2 separate regions of the Homo sapiens genome follow, and region 1 is linked to region 2. The links are contacts of gene promoters, found by promoter capture Hi-C in blood cells and fetal thymus (Javierre and others, 2016). All regions are on one chromosome and are shown on one strand. Each heading gives the region's core, a stretch centred on a gene start or on the middle of the fragment in contact. The rest is flanking DNA. Distances are from core to core; before and after follow the strand shown. Region 1 has its middle 21 kb from the start of SLN. Region 2 holds the start of ELMOD1 (ELMO domain containing 1).

The links. Contacts are between HindIII fragments. The CHiCAGO score rates a contact against its expected background, and 5 or more counts as called.
Region 1: a contact is called between a fragment that was not itself captured here and the fragment with the promoter of ELMOD1 in region 2, in 1 of 17 cell types (endothelial precursors). The highest score is 9.6, in endothelial precursors.

Annotation. Positions count from the first base shown.
Region 1 is chr11:107,689,910-107,692,609 of GRCh38, reverse strand. No RefSeq gene overlaps it. Among named protein-coding and RNA genes, the nearest start is that of SLN, 21 kb to the left of the region's middle. The HindIII fragment of the contact is 3,358 bases long and covers 1-2,700 here.
Region 2 is chr11:107,589,889-107,592,588 of GRCh38, reverse strand. ELMOD1 (ELMO domain containing 1) reads right to left here and starts at 1,442. Exons shown (of 12, transcript NM_018712.4): 1 at 1,180-1,442. RefSeq lists an enhancer at 940-999 and silencers at 1,250-1,389, 1,450-1,559. The HindIII fragment of the contact is 4,180 bases long and covers 1-2,700 here.

The sequences.
Region 1 (2,700 bases), core at 84-2,583, 100 kb before region 2:
TGATTTCTACTGATCTGTCTTTAAGTTCCCCCACTCTTTTCTCTGCCATCTCCTTTCTGCTATTGAGCCCATTAGTGAATATTTTCATTTTATGTTTCAGTTCTAAATTTTACATTTTGTTCTTTTTTACAGCCTCTATTTCTTTGCTGAGAACTCCTTTCTTTATTCATTTCAAGCATATTGCTTTTACTTCATGGAGCATAATTAGAATGGATGCTTTAAAGTTTTTGTCTGATAATTTTAACTTCTGGTCATCTCTGAGCTAACTGTTGATTCTCTTTTCTATTGAGAATTGTTAAGAATGTCCTTATTCTTTATATGTCAAGGAATTTTGAATGGTTTCCTAGACATTTTGAATATTATGTTATGAGACTCTGGGTTCTGTTAAGATCCTCTGGATAATTTGATCTTTAGTTTTAGCAGGTAACCAGTCTTTGTAGTTTAAGATTACAAATCCCAATCTACCTTCTCTGTTCTATGGTTCCAAAGTCAGTTTTGTTTTGAAAACCTTTGCAGTGCTATTTTGGTTCACTTTATTTATGTCCCACCCAAAGGCTAGTTTGGCACATGGGCAGTGGTCTACACTATGGTTTGGTTCTCAAAACCTTTGCGGTGCTGCTTCATATCAATTCCCCCTACAATTAGCTCAGAAGTGACTTCACACAAAGATTTAAGGAATCCATTTCCCCAGCTCTCTCTTCTCCATGACTTCCCCAAAACTTTCTAGTTCTTAAGGGCTTCTTTTCATGGTCTTCCGGCTAAAAAGCTGGGGTTTCAGCCTCTCCATGTTGTTGTGTACTTCTCAAAATGGGGTCTGCCTCAGGAGCAGAATGCAGAGAGAAAAAAGAAAGAAAACGATTAATAGAGATTCCCCCAACATTCTTCAGATCACAGGGACATCTTTTTCCAGTTCCTCTGGTAATAAAAAAGGATTTTCTCTGAGTTTGAGGTGCTTGCAAGCCTACCACTGCTGCTGCTGTTGCAAAAGTGCAGCTTCATGACTTGCCACAGGGCAGGGCCAGGAGATTACTAAAAGAAAGAAAATGAGGATTCCCTTCACATTCACAATCCTACAGGACCCCCACACTTTGTCCACTGACTAGATAAAGAGGATTTGTCTTAGTCCTTTTCTGCTTGCCTTTGCTGTGTAGTTCCAGGATTTGGGCTGCCATAGAGTGTAAGTTAGGATATATGGGTGGGAAAAAAACAAAAACAAAAGAAACAAGAAACTCACTGTTGTAATGGCTGTCCTATGAGTTTTGAGAAAGATATAGAGTGGAACAATTTTACTCATTTTAACTAACATCAGAAGTCTCTGACATCCAGCCATGAATCATCTAAATCCCTGAGTCGATAATGGTGATACAAGATTGCTAGTGCCACAGCAGCCTGCCAAAGCAAACGAAAACTCCCTTAGGAGAAAGATAGCATAATCCTAGGCATCAACTTATCTTTACTATTTTTCATAGACAATGTCTGGTACTCAATAAAAAAGAACCAGGCATAGTGCCAGTGTCTATGGAGCGCTGTAATTTAAGTTATTCAGAGCAACTTTCTTTGAACATGTTTTCTTTAAAGTAAAAATAGAAACCTCTTTACAGAAAGGAAAAGTCATCATCCCACTTACATATCCCTTCTCACCACGGTGCACAACAGTGTCTGCTAATATATAAATTAGATGTGTTCTTTCCAGGCAAATATATTATTTTAAGTAATTTGTCACAAGATGAATTGCAATTTTTAAAATCTCTCCTGTTTAAATATTTTCTTTATAGTAACATGATTAAGTCATCATGGCATATGATCTGGCGTTTACTTTGTGAGTTGAGATATATTCGGACGTCGTCAGCTAGAATCTCAAGTGATGGATATGTCCCCCGTATGTAGTTGCTTCTTCTCTCTCTTCTCAACAGGATTCCAAACGTGGCAGGGAACAGAGTCAGATGATCTATCTTTTCATCTATTCCACCATCTCTTTATTTTATTATTACTTTATTTCTTCTGAAGGGTTTATTTGTGACCTAAATAAGAAACAGAATCTAAGCCAAAACATTTTGTTCCTTCAAATAACAAATAACATGCCTGTAATCGCAGTACTTTTGGAGGCCAAGGTGGGAGAATCACTTGAGGCCAGGAGTTTGAAGCCAGCCTGTCACACAGGCTGGAGTGCAGTGGTGCGATCTTGGCTCACTGCAACCTCCGCCTCCCCAGTTCAAGCGATTCTCCTGCTTCAGCCTCTTGAGCAGCTGAGACTACAGGTGAGTGCCACCATGTGCGGCTAATTTTTGTATTTTTTTTTAGTAGAGACGGGGTTTCACTATATTGGCCAGGCTGGTCTCGAACTCCTGACCTCGCGATCCACCCACCTCGGCCTCCCAAATTGCTGGCATTACAGGTGTAAGCCACCGCGCCTGGCCTCTAAAAATTTTTTTAAAAAATTAACTGGATGTGTGGTGGCATGCACCTGTAGTACCAGCGACTCAAAAATCTGAGGCAAGAGGATCACCTGAGCCCAGCAGTTCAAAGCTACAGTGAATTATGATTGGGTCACTGCACTCCAGCCTGGGCGACAGCAAGACCCTGAAAAAAGAAAAGAAAAGAAAAAAAGAAAAGAAAGAACACAAAGACAAGAAAAACCCCATAAATAACATAGGTGGTTTCAGCGATAAAATAAACTGACCCCAGGTGTAGAACTGGGGC
Region 2 (2,700 bases), core at 193-2,692:
GGGAGGGAATGACTAAGTCTGCTGTAACTACGTGTTGTCATAATAGGTTAATGAATTAAGACATTTATCCCAATACAAGCATACTACCTGCTTTCCACCATATTGGCAGCACCAGTTAAGGACGGTTGTCAAGCCACCGGCACAAAACGTATACATTGCAGAGATGCAGAACAATGCCTGGATGCCTGCCCAAAATTGGTCTCTCCAAATGACAGACTCAATTGATAGTACCAATCTACGGCCCACTGGGGGTTAGCAGCGTATTTTCCTAGGTGGTGGGGGAAAGGGATGAAATGTGGAAAGCTCAGGGCACTGTGCAGAGCAGAAAGGCTGACAACATATTCATTAAACTTGATCTGAAGCAAGTGAGCCCGTGAGGTCGTTCCTGAAATATTCATAAGATGTGTTACCGAACTCGCCGCTTAGAGGTTGAGCATAAACACTGAGTCAGAACAGCCCGTACCCACACTTGGAAAACAAAAAAAAGCACCCACAACAGCTCACCCCACCACCACACTCCACTGCTCTGCTTTTAACAGCCCCGTCAGCTGTCAGCTGTCACTCCCCACTCGGCTGTCCAATTCTACCTGCCCGGGAAAGAGATGCTCCAATATTGAAGTGCGGAGTTTCCCAGCAGTTGGAGGAGGCGCAGCTCAACAGCCCAGCCGACCGCTCCTCCCAGCTCGCTGCGCGGAGGACCCCACAGTCCGGCGGCCCCGCAGCCCGGCTGCCTAGCTCCTCCCTGGAGACCGAAGCCCACAAGGCAAGGGGTTCCCAGGGACCCAGACCAGCCCCTCGCCCCAGCCAGGCCGCCCTTGTCCCGCCTTCCATTTTGGCTCTGTCTGGGATCCCTTCCCCGAGCCCTCGGCGTTAGGTCGCTAGGCGACCTACGCCCGGGCCGAGATGCAAACAGCCTCTCGCGCCGACCTGCAGCCTCTCGGGTGTTAATTGGGAGGACAGGATAGAAGGGGAAATCACTGTCCTGGGTGACCCCGGAGCCCCTGCACCAAGGCAGAGTGCACTTTCATTCCCGTTCCCTCTCTGCCCCCGATGCTTAGCATTTCTGCTGCCTCCCAGGCACAGCGCAGCTTGCGTGATGCCTCGCGTCCTCGCCGCACCTCTCTCCTCCCCAAGGGCATTCGCCCCTACTCCCTAGGCTCCTCTGGGGTCGCCAATCACCTGGACTCTGGCGGCGGTAGGCTCAGCAGCTCCCGGCGCGCGGCGGCGTGGTCTTCATCTCCGCCTTCCCCAGGCGCTCCGGCTACGCGCTCCGCGGCGGCGAGCGACGCGCTCGGTCCCGGGCGCCGAGGCTGGACAGGGGCGGCCGCGGCTGCCGCACTGGCTGCGGGCGCGGAAGGGGCGGGGGCGGGGCAGGAATCTGGGTCGCGTGGAGCGGAGCAAGCCGGGATGCACCCGGGGCGGCTGGCGGCGAGGAGGCGACCGAGAGCAGCGGGGGAGGGCGTGCAGAGGCTTCCCTGGGAGCACGAAGCGGGCGGCTACTGAGCATGCCCAGTCCGGGAGCCGGGGGCGCGGGCGCGGTGCTGGGGGAGAGAGCGCGGCACCCAGTGCCGGAATCTGGGGGGAAAGGGTTAAATCTGCGGACCCCGCTGCTGTGGGAGGTGGCTGGTGTGGCCCAGTTTAATTGCTCCCGGGTGGCCTCCCTGGAGGAGCCCACGACAGGAAGATGGTGAACCTGAGATGACCTGTCAATGGGATTCCCAGACAGTCCGGGCAAGGTGTGTTCCCCGCCCTCTCCCTGGATAATTGTCCAGAAGTCAAACTTTGTTTTAGTTCAGCTCCAACCTCCCTCGTCTCACCGAGCACCCAGTGACTCTTCCAATCCTGATCCCCACCCTTCACCTGCCTTCCCGGGACTGCAGAACCCTATCCCTCACCCCAACCGGCAGCCCCCGCCTTTCCCACTCCTGGCCCAGTCGGGTCAGATTCTCAAAGAGCCAGCTCTTTAATTAGGTGTAATTGAGAGATCGTGTCAATCCTGCGAGGTCCATATCTGCATTTCAACAAGGGCTTTAGAAGCAATACCGTAACCCCGGGGTTAATTATAACAGGATGAATTATAGACACCCTCGTCCGGGGCTGTTTGGGGGAACATTGCTTCGTGGGGCCCCAGAAGCCACTTCATACAGACAGAGAGAGAGAGAGAGAGAGAGAGAGAGAGAGAGAGAGAGAGAGAGAGAGAGAGAGAGAGAGAGAGAGAGAGAGAGAGAGAGAGAGAGAGAGAGAGAGAGAGAGAGAAACCTGTGCCTTCCGGATTGCATTTCATGTTTGATGAAGAACGTTTTCTCCATAGCTAATCAAAAAAGTCTCTTTAATGAGGCCGCATGGGGTTGGGGAAAGACCAAATGAGCTTCGAGGTCGGCGCTTATTTTAGTTTCATTCATCACTCCAAGCCGGTTACCTGACCGTCTTGTGCCTCTGTTTCCTCACCTGTAAAACAAAGGGTGGTTAATACCTACCTCTGCGGGCTGTTGTGAGGATTACTTGGGCAGCTGGCGGCGCGGAGCAGCCTGGATACCAAAGCATCTGCCTGTCCCGCAGTGGATGTTCCCTGAATAAAAGTCTCTGCAGGTTCCACCTCCACTATTCTGTGTTTATGAAAAGTTGGGTTAGTGATAATCCTTAAATGCTGAACATTTATCTTATTTCCTCTTCACATTAAATGACCTTAAAGCCTTGACC